3 separate regions of the Homo sapiens genome follow, and all the other regions are linked to region 2. The links are contacts of gene promoters, found by promoter capture Hi-C in blood cells and fetal thymus (Javierre and others, 2016). All regions are on one chromosome and are shown on one strand. Each heading gives the region's core, a stretch centred on a gene start or on the middle of the fragment in contact. The rest is flanking DNA. Distances are from core to core; before and after follow the strand shown. Region 1 overlaps CUBN (cubilin). Region 2 holds the start of CUBN (cubilin). Region 3 overlaps CUBN (cubilin).

Evidence for each region. Contacts are between HindIII fragments. The CHiCAGO score rates a contact against its expected background, and 5 or more counts as called.
Region 1: a fragment that was not itself captured here is called in contact with the fragment with the promoter of CUBN in region 2 in 5 of 17 cell types (activated CD4 T cells, naive CD8 T cells, M0 macrophages and 2 more); the score reaches 11.5 in activated CD4 T cells.
Region 3: a contact is called between a fragment that was not itself captured here and the fragment with the promoter of CUBN in region 2, in 3 of 17 cell types (activated CD4 T cells, M1 macrophages and total CD8 T cells). The highest score is 9.0, in activated CD4 T cells.

The regions. Positions count from the first base shown.
Region 1 is chr10:16,924,064-16,927,984 of GRCh38, reverse strand. CUBN (cubilin) reads left to right here. Exons shown (of 67, transcript NM_001081.4): 42 at 2,211-2,401; 43 at 2,561-2,744. Among named protein-coding and RNA genes, the nearest start is that of RSU1, 110 kb to the right of the region's middle. The HindIII fragment of the contact is 5,679 bases long and covers 1-3,921 here.
Region 2 is chr10:17,128,557-17,132,919 of GRCh38, reverse strand. CUBN (cubilin) reads left to right here and starts at 3,109. Exons shown (of 67, transcript NM_001081.4): 1 at 3,109-3,276; 2 at 3,670-3,799. The coding sequence starts at 3,155. The HindIII fragment of the contact is 5,551 bases long and covers 551-4,363 here.
Region 3 is chr10:16,983,231-16,987,376 of GRCh38, reverse strand. CUBN (cubilin) reads left to right here. Exons shown (of 67, transcript NM_001081.4): 30 at 3,098-3,272. Among named protein-coding and RNA genes, the nearest start is that of CUBN, 140 kb to the left of the region's middle. RefSeq lists a silencer at 2,337-2,496. The HindIII fragment of the contact is 3,245 bases long and covers 682-3,926 here.

The sequences.
Region 1 (3,921 bases), core at 280-2,779, 200 kb after region 2:
CCTCATCCAAAGCACTGGGGCCAAGTCGTACAAAAGTGTGCTGCCTTCAGGTCTCTGGTGTGGCATCTTCGCTCCAAAGGAGGTGTGTCCAGGGAATGCATGAGAGAGAGCTTTAAAGCAATTTTTCAGCCTAGCTGAGGGCTGGAACTAGATAGAGCACAGCTCATATCCATAACTCATCGAAGGAGCAAAACGTCATCATTTATTCTCATAAATTACTTGGTTGAAGTCAGCCATCTGAGGGTTGGCAGGAAGAGTTTGTTGCTCTTGAAATATGAATTTGATGAGTCAAAAGCGGGCACCATATATGGGATACCATCATGCACAGTATGATTGAGACTTTTCAAACTTGACATGTGAAGTCCAGTAACAGCCTTAAATCCAAACTAACTGAAAGGTGATAAAGTAGTCCAAGGAAGAGTGAAAGACTCTCATGTTTTGATCAAAAAACATAATTTTAAAGTAGATTCTCAATCTAACATTAAAAATTAATCTAATATTTCCTCCATGCTTATATATACCTTTTATAAAGTAGGGAGCAACTGAAGATAAGTTGTGTTCCTCACGCTCAAGGGAGGCAGGCTGCATAGTGGCTTAAGAGCATGGGCTTTGGAACTAGACCTAAGATACATTTTCACCTCTACAATTTAACTAGCTGTGTGAGATGTCTGCCCTTACTGATGAGCTTCTGGTCCCTGACAACTGGAGAATTAATGCCTCCTCCTTTTATCCTCTTCCTTTATCTCCTGCCCTCTCACTCTCATGTATATATTACTATGTATCGCAACTCATTATACATACATACATGTATACACATGTATGTATATAGTAAGGGTGGAACCATTGGAATTAATATGTGTGTTTATATATGTATATAATATATATAAATATGTGTGTGTGTCTATGTATATATACATACTTGGCAGCTCCCGGTCTAGAATGTATTTCAAATTTAACCTGTGAGTGGTATAATGGACTTTGGAGACTCAGAAGTGGGGAGGATGGGTGGGGTATGAGGGATAAAAAACTACATATTAGGTGTAATGTATACTAGTCAGGGAACCAGTGCACTAAAATATAGACTTCACCAGTATGCAATTCATCCATGTAACGAAAAACCACTTGTATCCCAATTAGACTAGATAGATAGATAGATAGATAGATAGATAGATAGAAAAAAAAATTTCACCTTTGAAAGTTGAACACTTTATTCCCACCCTTTTCCATGCCACCACCCCCCAATTCTACACTCCTCATAATCTCAGCAAATGGAAAGTACATTTTTCTCATTATTTAAGTCAAAATCTTGATGTTATTTTTGACTTTTCTGTTTGTCTCACACTTAACCATCAACAAATCACACTGGCTCTACCCTCACAATGTATCTAGATTCCAACCACGCCTCTCCATTTCTGTTGCTACCAGCCTAGCCCGTGCACCTATCATCTCTCCTTGGCCTCAGGCGGTCCCCTCCTTATTGGACACTCTGCTCCTGTCCTTCCCTGTCCTCCACCCCTTACAGTCTAAGGACTGCACATAGAGTGACATTTTCAAACTTAAGTGAGATCATGCCATTCTGATGCCCAAAACCCTTCAACATCTTCCTCTTCTTATTCAGAATAAGTCTTTTCAGTTTCCTGCATGACCTAGCCATGCTACCTTTGGAATCTCTCATTCTGCCTCATCCATTCTGACTTCCATGATGTACCTCTAACACATCAAGCCTTTACACTGTTTTCTGAACTGGAATGTTTTCTCCCCCATAACTATCTGGCTTGATCCTTCATTTCATTCATGTCTCTGCTAAGATGTTACTCCAATGACGTGGCTTTTCTAACTTAACTCTAACAATAAAGTACCCTTCTCCCTCCTCTCATCCATTTTTCTTTATAGAATTTATCACCATCTCACATATCATGTATTTGTTTATTGTATGTCTTCCCCATCTATAAAGAAATCTTTATGAAAGCAGGTAATTTGTCTTGTTTACTTACCTCTGTATCCCAGATCTCAATGACCACCACAAACTGAGTAGCCAATAGCATGTGCTCAATACATGCTTGTTATGATAATCATTTCCTGCACTCTGGCTTTATTTTCAAGCATTTTTATTGCCTCCACTTTGAAAACCCCCCAAGAAAACTAAGAAAGCATAAAAATCCAGTTGCCAATGCTATTTAAATAACCGACCTTTGTTTCTTTGTGGGAAGGCTGCGGTGGATATTTGCATGCAGACAGAGGGATCATCACGTCCCCCAAGTATCCAGAGACTTACCCATCCAACCTCAACTGTTCTTGGCACGTCCTGGTCCAAAGTGGCCTGACCATTGCTGTCCATTTTGAACAGCCTTTCCAGATTCCAAATGGAGATTCTTCTTGCAACCAGGGGGATTACTTGGTGGTAGGTCTTGCTGCTACCCTTTCTAATTACATTTTCCATAGACTTCATTCAGAAAACAAAATGATAATTTTTCTCTCCTGGGACATAAATGGATAAGAATTGCGTACTCCTTCTTTTGCAATGTAAAGGAGTTGATGAAATTTTAATTTGTCTTTCCAGCTAAGAAATGGTCCTGATATCTGTTCTCCACCCTTGGGACCCCCTGGAGGAAATGGTCATTTTTGTGGCAGTCATGCTTCATCAACTCTGTTCACCTCGGATAATCAAATGTTTGTTCAGTTTATTTCTGATCACAGTAATGAAGGGCAAGGATTTAAAATCAAATATGAGGCAAAGAGTTTAGGTAAGTATTTTCACTGAGAATTATATCTGCTTTTCCTGCAATTGCTTGATCTTCTTTGATATAAAATTTTCTTTTCTGAACCAACAGTAATAGAATTAATAAGAATGCCTACTCTCAAGTACTTATTATATTTGATACATTCAATATCTCATCGTGACTACTTTTCAAGTAAAGTATCATTATTTCCATTTTAAAGATAAATAAAATGAGGCTTGGACTTTTCCAAGGCCACATACCTAATTAGTGACCAAAGTGAAATTTTCCATGAGTATAAAATAAACTATTCTTCTTGATCCCTGGAATTCCTTAGACCTTTCCATTATAAGATGTCTAATTGTAAGTTAATTCTAGTTACAGAAACATTATAAGACTTACATTTGCCTTATTTTGTAATAATTTGTATGCTGTTTTCAAAAGAACACATAATTTTTTGATTCTATTATTACTGATTTAATTATATATTACATGATATCTGTAATTGCTTGTACTTAATTACACTTGATTATAATTGCATTTAATTCTACTGTAATGATTTGATTTTGATGACATTTGCTTTTTAGTAATGTTTAATTGAATAAATAAATAAATAAATAGGCATCACTTCAAAAAAAGGGAGTAATGTCAGTAGAAAGTAATATAATAATAAATTTTTCCTTTGTCCCACCAGAAGTTAGATAATATAGATTTCAAAATGATCCTATGACTTGAATCCCAGATTCATATATATATATATGTAAATGAAATCATATGTTTTATTGCACATTGTATGAGATTTAAAGTCAACATGGTTTCTTTATTTTGGTAAAAGAGATGAATAAGAGTCTTCACCAACTGACACACAAAAATAAGCAAATAGCTTGAGTAAGGTCCAGAACACCAGGGAAGGAGCTTTGGTCACTTCCCAGAGCTCTGGCACAAGGAGGGAGCTTTAATGCAGCTCTGTGGGCACCCGCGCCATTGCTTTCTAAGCTGGGACCTTCTCATCCCTCCATCTCTTGATGCTGAGCTTTGCAGCTGAGTCATGAATGGGCAGTTTTCACCTGGTACCAAAGCATTTCAAGAGTAGCAGTGTCCTGAGTCTAGTGAGTAGACGTCAGCCCATCCTACCCATCCTACATAACTCTACTCTTTTGTTTTTGTTTATAATAGACTCAGTCTTTTTTTTCTTTCTTGAGAC
Region 2 (4,363 bases), core at 1,860-4,359:
TAAGTAAACAGAATGAGTGCCAATCCCTTGGAAACAGCAATTGATTTTTATATTGCTTTTCACAGAGTCAACATATGCAGACAGTCTGACTTGCCTATTGATCTGAGCTAGAGTTGAGTGAATGAGCTGGATGTAAAATTCCCTAACTCATCACTAAAAGTCAGTCAGACCTTGAACGACGGTTACTTTCTTTTTTTTTTCTAACATGGGTGACAATGAGCAATTGAATGCTTAGATTGGGAGCTGAGAGATTATCTTTACTTTGTTGAGTAATAAACACATTAATTAACAAAACAGGAAAATCCTGTCAAAGAGGAAGTCCTTATTAAGATCATGCTGGAGGCCTTTTCTATTGCACTGGAAAGATTAGCTGAGTTCAGTGGTCTTTAAGAAAGTATAATCATGAAAATAGTTACGTCCAGAGCTCAGAGAGTTTGAATTATCCTTTTGATTGGAAGATTCTAGCCCAGACTATTTTATCCTATTCTAAACTTGCCAAAAATTTCATATTGTCAAACTTTCCCTCCACCCCATGCCAAGTTGTTAAGCTTTCAAATAAACAAATTTATTATGATAAATTTCATCTCTATTGATGTAAAGGCTATTGGATATCTTTTCTTAGCATTTAGTTTAATACCAAATTAATATTTTGTATCATCCTGATATATGAAGACATTTACAAATATAGAAGAGAAATAATTTTAATCAGTTTTATTGTGCTGTAATTTACATCTGCCAAAGATTATCTATTTTAACTATACAGCTTTATGAGTTTTGACAAATTTATACAGTCATGCAACCACAATCACAATCATGATACAGAACATTTTCATCACCCTTAAATATTCCCTCATGCCTCCTTGCGATCAATCTCCTCCCCAACCCCTGGCCTCTGATTTGTTGTCTATCAATCAGTGTAGTTTTGGCTTTTTTAGATTTTCATATGGAATCATGTGATATAGAATCACTTAGGAAGTAGTCTTTTGTGTCTTATTGTTGTCCTTGAAAAATATTTTTAAGCAAGCAAAATGACTTGCCACAGGTTGGCAGAAAAATATTTGCAAAATACGTATTTGAAAATTCTTGTATCTAGAATATATGAGCTCTTACAATCAATAAAAGACAAACAACAAAATTTTAAAAAATAGGCAAAATATCTAAACAGACAGTTCACCGAAGAAGATAAACAAATGGCAAATATACATAAAAAGATGCCCAACATCTTTGGTCATTAGGGAAATATAAATTAAAATTGTAATGAGATACCTATGTTGACACAAAGACCTGTTCACAAATGTTCATAACAGCTTTATTTATAATAGTCCCAAACTGGAAATAACTCAAGTGTTTATCAACTGATGAGTAGAGAAGCAAACTGTGGGATAGCCATATGATGAAATACTACTCAATAATAAAAGGGAACCAATTAATGATATACACTACAGCACAGATGAATTACAAAAGCATTATGTTGAGTGAAAGAAGCAGATACAAGAGACATATAGAAGAAATTGGGAAGGTTTAAAAAAAATTTTTAAAAGCAGTGACTATTTGAGTATCACAAGTAAAGTTTTTTTTTGTTTTGTTTTGTTTTTGAGACGGCATCTCGCTCTGTCCCCCAGGCTGGAGTGCAGTGGCATGATCTCAGCTCACTGCAAGCTCCGCCTCCCGGGTTCACGCCATTCTCCTGCCTCAGCCTCCCGAGTAGCTGGGACTACAGGCGCCCGCCACTAAGCCCGGCTAATTTTTTGTATTTGTAGTAGAGACGGGGTTTCACCACGTTAGCCAGGATGTTCTCGATCTCCTGACCTCGTGATCCGCCCGCCTCGGCCTCCCAAAGTGCTGGGATTACAGGCGTGAGCCACCGCGCCCGGCATAAGTAAAGAATTATAAGCTATGGTACATAATGATCCTCTCCTCAAAGAGCCTACATAAGTAAGACACAAAATAAGTAAAACACAAACAGGCTTGTCCTGAAAGAGCCTGCATGGGTATTAACCAATGCAATGGTAATTACCTAGAGATTTTTCTTAGAAGTGAAATTTTTACAGCTCTCCCTCAAATTCAGTTTTGTCTGTGTGCTCATGGAAAGTCTGAGTGCATCAATAGTTGATTTTACAATCGAAATGTAGAATATTTTCATCACTCTCAGTGGTTTCTGTAGTCCCAGCACAGAGTGAGTGGGGACATCAGTGCTCCATGTCCTCAAACCATATATCCAGCTGGAAGGGTGTATAGCGCAGTGTGGAAAGTGGGAATGGATTCCACAGCCGTCCATAGGTCCCACAGGGATGATAAAAAGTAAAAAGTACAAATTCTTTGTACATTCTGGATATTAACCCATTTTCATATATATATGATTTGCAAATATTTTCTTCCATTCTGGGAGTTGCTTTTTCACTCTGTTGATGTATTTTTTGATGCACAAACGTTTTTAATTTTGATGTATTCCAATTTATATCTTTTGGTTGTCTGTGTGTTTTTCTTTTTTTGCCCATGCTTTTGGTATCATACTCAAGAAATCATTGCCAAATCCAAAATCCAAGGTCATGAATTTTTGTCCTATTCTTCTGAGTTTTATGTTATAGTTTCAGATTTTTTGAACCATTGTGAGTTAATTTTATAGTTTTAGCTCTTAGATTTAGATCTTTGAACTTTTTTGAGTTAATTTTTGCATATGGTATGAGGTAAGCCTCCAACTTCTTTTGCATGTGGATATCTAGTTTTCCTAGCGCTGGGTAAAGGTGGAACTCCTCTGCAAGGGAGGTGAGGAAGGAGGGGAACAGAGAAAGGTGTAGATAATGACCAGTTTACTTTTGTTGAAACCTAGTTACTTCTTAAGCAAAGATTGTTTAAGTGGATGTTTTCAAAGCTGCTTGTTACTGTTTCAAAGGTCAAATAGATAATGATTAAGTTGCGCATCACTTAAGGTAGATTTTGACCTCTCACAAGTTGAAGAGTACTGAAGATCTAAGATCATTTACATCCCTCTGGAAGAAAAAATAACATAGCCTTCTAGGGCAAAGAAGAAAAAACTCAACAGTTACAGGATATTCCATGGTTCAAAGTACACCTGCCTGGTTTGCTGTTCTCCAAAATCCCATGCTCAGTTGGTTGGAGTGGCCTCACTCTTACCTGCCAACCTGGGAGGTTGATGATGAACATGTCTTTACCTTTTCTTTGGAGTTTGCTTACCTTATTAATATTTGCTGAAGTAAATGGCGAAGCTGGAGAACTTGAGCTGCAGAGACAAAAAAGAAGCATCAATCTCCAACAGTAAGTAAACACATGGGTCATTCCTGCTCAGGGACTAGGCTAATTCCTCACCAGTTTTCCCAAATAGCCAGATAAACAAAGGTGCAATTTTTCTTGAGGAAAATTATGTTGAGAAGCAAACAGGGAAAAACATTTAGACTGAGGTATGAAATTACTTTCCTATGCACAAATTATTATCTGTCATTTTGCAAATAATCTGTTTGCAATTGCCAGGAGGTATCTCTGAGAAATGTGCAGAGAAAAAAGTGGCAGATGAGCAGGGGCAGTTGGGTTGAGATGATCAAAAAGTGAAGATGTATTTGGCCTGTAGTTATTCAGTAAGAAACTTTGTTATTTTGGTTTAAAAATTGTACTTGCTAATTACTGATGCATTCTCTCGTTTGAATTATATAGGCCTCGAATGGCTACAGAGAGAGGAAATTTGGTGTTTCTTACGGGGTCTGCTCAAAACATTGAGTTTAGAACCGGATCCCTGGGAAAAATTAAATTAAATGATGAAGATCTCAGTGAGTGTTTACATCAGGTAATACACTGGAAATATATTGAAGTCATTTTGTATATCCATATACGGTGACTTAATTGAACAAGTCTAGATTAATCTGTACCTTGAATCTTTTTTAATTATTATTTTTTATTAATACATAATTTGATACATTCCTATAATGTGTAAAGTTCAAATCAGGGTAATTGGGATATCCATCACCTTAAATATTTACCTTTTCTTCATGCTAAGAACATATGAATTGTTCTCTTCTAGTTATTTTGAAATGTACAATAGATTAATGTTAACTATAGTCACCCTACTGGTCTATCAAACACTAGGTCTTATTTCTTCTATCTAACTATATATTGTATTCATTAATCAACCTGTCTTCAGCCTCCCTCCCCCTTCCTAGTGTACCTTGAATCTTTAGCATAGAGAACATAATTGGGCATCAGACATGTTCTTGTAAAGGACGATGGCCTGGGGTTAATAGTGGGTAGAGGGAGTATGCTAAAAGATAGAAGCTCATTGTGCCAGACAATGCACCCTAGTCCAGAGAAGGCACGGAGGGTGGAACTGAAACTCCTCCACAGGGGATGCGAG
Region 3 (4,146 bases), core at 1,055-3,554, 140 kb after region 2:
AAACACATTTTTAAATCTCTGATCATCAGACCACTTCTTTTTCCCCCAAAGTTTAGTCATATGCTGTAGTTGAATGAACCATGCCCTGAAATTCTTTCCATCTTTTTCTTCTTTTGAAGAGTCATGTACTATCGGTTTTATTTGTGGAAGCCAGAAGGACCATTGTTTCGGTCATGGAAACACTCTGCCTGATTTTACTTTAATCTCTGAGAAAGTCTTTAGAGAGATTCTGAACTGGCATTAGGCAGAAAAGGAAATCCACTCCTTGGAGCAGTAAACCAGGACAATTGCTTGGTGTGGACAGTTACCTCAGTCTGGCCTCTCTGCGATAGGCTTTTGTGAGCTCAGCCTTGCAAGAAGGGAAGTAAATAATGTCCAAAGTGGCAGTGTTTATTCTTCTAGAGGCTTCTGGGTCCAGCCAACTCATACCCATTATGTTTGTGATCTCAAGGGGATGTTTGAGCAGAGAAAACAAAGAATATTTTGCCGACGTGCGAGTTTTCTTTGTTAGAACTTAACACTTGGCGTTCAGTGGTCTTTCCAAATATGTGCTGTTGATTGGGCTTGGGTGATTGGGAGCACATGCTGTCAGTTTCATGCTGTGGGGACTGTGCCCTAGGCGAGGGGGTAGGGAGATCTTGAAAATGGGAAAGAAAGCTGGCTCTACACACCATGCAAGCTTGCTTCTGCCATTTGCATATGTGTACGTGTCAGGGGCCACACAGGGCTCTTCCTAAAGCCCTGCTTTTGATGGGACTTGGGGGGAGTGCACAAACATCAGCTCCTCCTAATAAAAATAAGCCTGAAGCAGTCGGTATGCTTCATTCCTTTGCAATTACTGTCCTTGTGCTCAGCCCTCTGTGTAACAGCCGTTTCATTCATTTTGGCCTTTACCGGATGGCTGGGGGGAATTAATCAGACAAAGAAATCATTATAGATTCAAATCACACACTCCTCCCCAAAGTAGGCTTCTTGTTCTCACTCCCTCTCCCCAGAGAACACTTGAGTGATTTTCCTATCAGTCAGCAGTGGGTCCTGAGGGTGGGCAAGGGCCGGGGGTGCTGAGGAATGGGGGCAGAGTGTCCCGAGGTGGGGGAAAGGCACAGAGGGAGGGTGGGAGGGCGCTGTGCCCAGATCCCCCTGAGAGCCGCCTTCCTGGCTCTGGTCCTGAGTGCCTGTACATGGATGGCTGCAGTTGCAGTTATGAAGGTCTCAGATACCAACTCTTTGAAAACTGTCTCCCAAAGATGGTCTTTCTTTTACAAATCGAAGTTTGAAAAGACCTGAAGATGAGGAGTCAGCATCTTCTATTTGATTCCCATCCTGCCTTCGCCACCCTCCCCAGCCCCACACATACACACAGGAGATAAACAGGACCCAGAGGAGACTGAGAAACCTGTCTGTGAGGCCTCCTGGAGGCCTGGCCTAGGCTATCCTTGCCTGCAAGATGCCCTCCGTGAGCCCAAGGAGACTCTTTCCAGAGGACTATGTCACTGGGGTATTGGATTCCAGTCAGACAGACAGTTTGGGAGATTTGGAGGAGCCTACGTGGTCTGAAGTCATGTGTGATAGATCTAGAAGTGAAACAAGAGAGTTCCCTGACCACCCCGTCGCAGGACCTGTGACAGGGGTGTGGCACATCTGTTCGGCTGTGGTGCCCTCAAACCCCTTATGGGAGGGGGAGCATGCAGATTGGCAGGTGCAGGAACCCAGGCAAGATGCTACCCACAGTACGGTCTAGTGGTGGGTGCCTGTGACTCTCAAAGCCCTCATGGGCAGGCTACAGTATTCTTTTAGCTCTGCCATCCACAGAGGGCTCAAGTGTTAACCAGCTCAGTGACTCTTGGTACCCGACTTCCTGTCTGGCATCCAGGAAGAATCAGGTCACACACGGACTTGAAGGATGGTGAATGTGGGGATTTTATTGGGCGATGGAGGTAGCTGTCATTGGAATGGATGGGGAACTGGAAAGGGGATGGAGTGTGAAGATGATCTTCCCCATAGAGTTTCGCTGTGCTGTGGATGATCAACTGTCTGACCATCCCCGGCCAAACTCCTCTCAACGTTCAGATGCTCCTTCTCTCTCCTTCTCTGCCACGTTGTTCTTCTCCTCCTCTGCTCTTCTATTCATCTGCCCATCTGCTCGTGGAGCCTGGAGTTGGAGGTTTATATGGGTACAGGAGATGGGGACGTGGCAGGCCAAAAGGCAACATCTGGGTGTGGAAACAAGAATGCCTGTTCCCGTTTAGGGCCGTGGGTTTCCAGGCTTGGGGATGGGGCCTTTGCCAGGGAACCTCCCTCTTCTACCCAGTGTTTCCCTGTCTGCTGTCTATATCAGAAGGAGCCATCTGGAGACTAAGGCAGAGTCTAGGGCAATCCCTGAGCAGAAAAGTGGGATGCACTTAGTCAGGTTCCTGGGCATGGGCGTGCTGGGAGCAGGCACAGGGAGGGTGCATAGCATCCCCTTCCTTAGGCTCCAAAACACACCCAGAGAGCTGGTATTTCCACTCCTCCTAAAGAAGCATACGTGTTATATTCAATGTGTGGTCTTAGAAAACATTCAGTTTGCAGGGTAGGTGGAAATTCCTAAAAATATAACTGGGATATTGGTAGCCTTCAGTGAACTCAACTTTCATAACAAAATGGCTTTATGCTAAGACTAATCATATGTGCCAGAGTTAGAAAATCAGACATTTCTTTTTTTAAAGGTCCCCCTAAAATTCAGAAAATCGACTTAATATTGTATGATCTGTAATGTTTCTGCTAGAGAAAGCAGGAAAGCCCACAAAGACATGAAAAAGACAAAAAGAGGAGATAGGGAAGATTCTGGAATAATCTACTCCGTCCTCCTCTGCAATTCTGGCTGATGAAACAAGCAGGCATTTTATGGGTGATTGAACTTGTGTGTTCCTAAGGCACAGGGAGTGCCTTTGAAAACTCAGCTCAAGTTTATAGTGCATCCCCACCCAGGGAGGCTGAGATTTCAATCTCTAATAATCATAGAACCCAAGGAGCCGGGGGTCAAAATGAGCCAGAGCAAGGGCCTGTAATTGCTTAAAATATTTTTTAAAGTCTTTTTTCCTACATCCCATGTTAGATCTATGGAGGCCCCGATTTCCACTCTCCCAGAATAGCCCAACTGTGTACCCAGAGATCACCTGAGAACCCCATGCAGGTCTCCAGCACTGGAAATGAGCTAGCAATTCGATTCAAGACCGACTTGTCCATAAATGGGAGAGGCTTCAATGCGTCATGGCAAGCAGTCACTGGAGGTGAGTGAGAAAAGGAGGTTTCCTAAAGTACTTAAGCCGAGCCCTCGTTAAATTTCATGAAATGCTTGGGAAAACGTATGAAGGCTACACACTTATAACTTAGTGACATCCCAAAGGGCAGCCTACTGAGACCTGACATATACCCTTCCCTAAAATACGTGATAAAGTTTAACTTCCTAAGGGTCACCACATATGTGAAAGCAAGAATGTAAGTGTGTAAGTCCATGGTGAGAGCAGAACTAGGGTGATAGGCCAGACCCACTCTCCAAGGGCTCGTACCTCTTAACCAGCCTCCATACCTCATGCCATAGTACAGACCTTTAGATTCTTGGCAAATATCAAACTTGCAAACATTAAATTTGTGAATCCCAAGGAATTACTGTGTGTTCTATGGTGACTTTCTGCCCAAGATTTTAGGCAGTCTAAATAAATTGCCTATTGTATATTTTTAAACTATAGCAAAAATCTATGGCACAAAATAGTGTAACAGATGTTAGCATATGCAACTACTAGAGATAGCCACATTTGCAGAATGCTTACTGTGTACTAGGCACTTTTCTAACTATTTTATGAGGATTATCTCTAGTCCTTACAACCACCCTGTGAGGGAAGTCCGCTTCATATCCTCATCTTACCAGTGTGGACACTGAAGCTTAGAAAGGTTAGTGTCTTGCCCAAAGTTCCACAGCTAGAAAACGTCAAAGCACATATGTGATTCCAGACTACCTTATGGCCACACTTCTTCAACTCTATCATAACCAAGGTATCTATATAAGAGCTCTCCCCTAAAGTTAATTATGTAGGAATTTAAATAAACACACACACACACACAGACACACACATTTAGTGTTTAGATTACCCCTGAATGATTCTC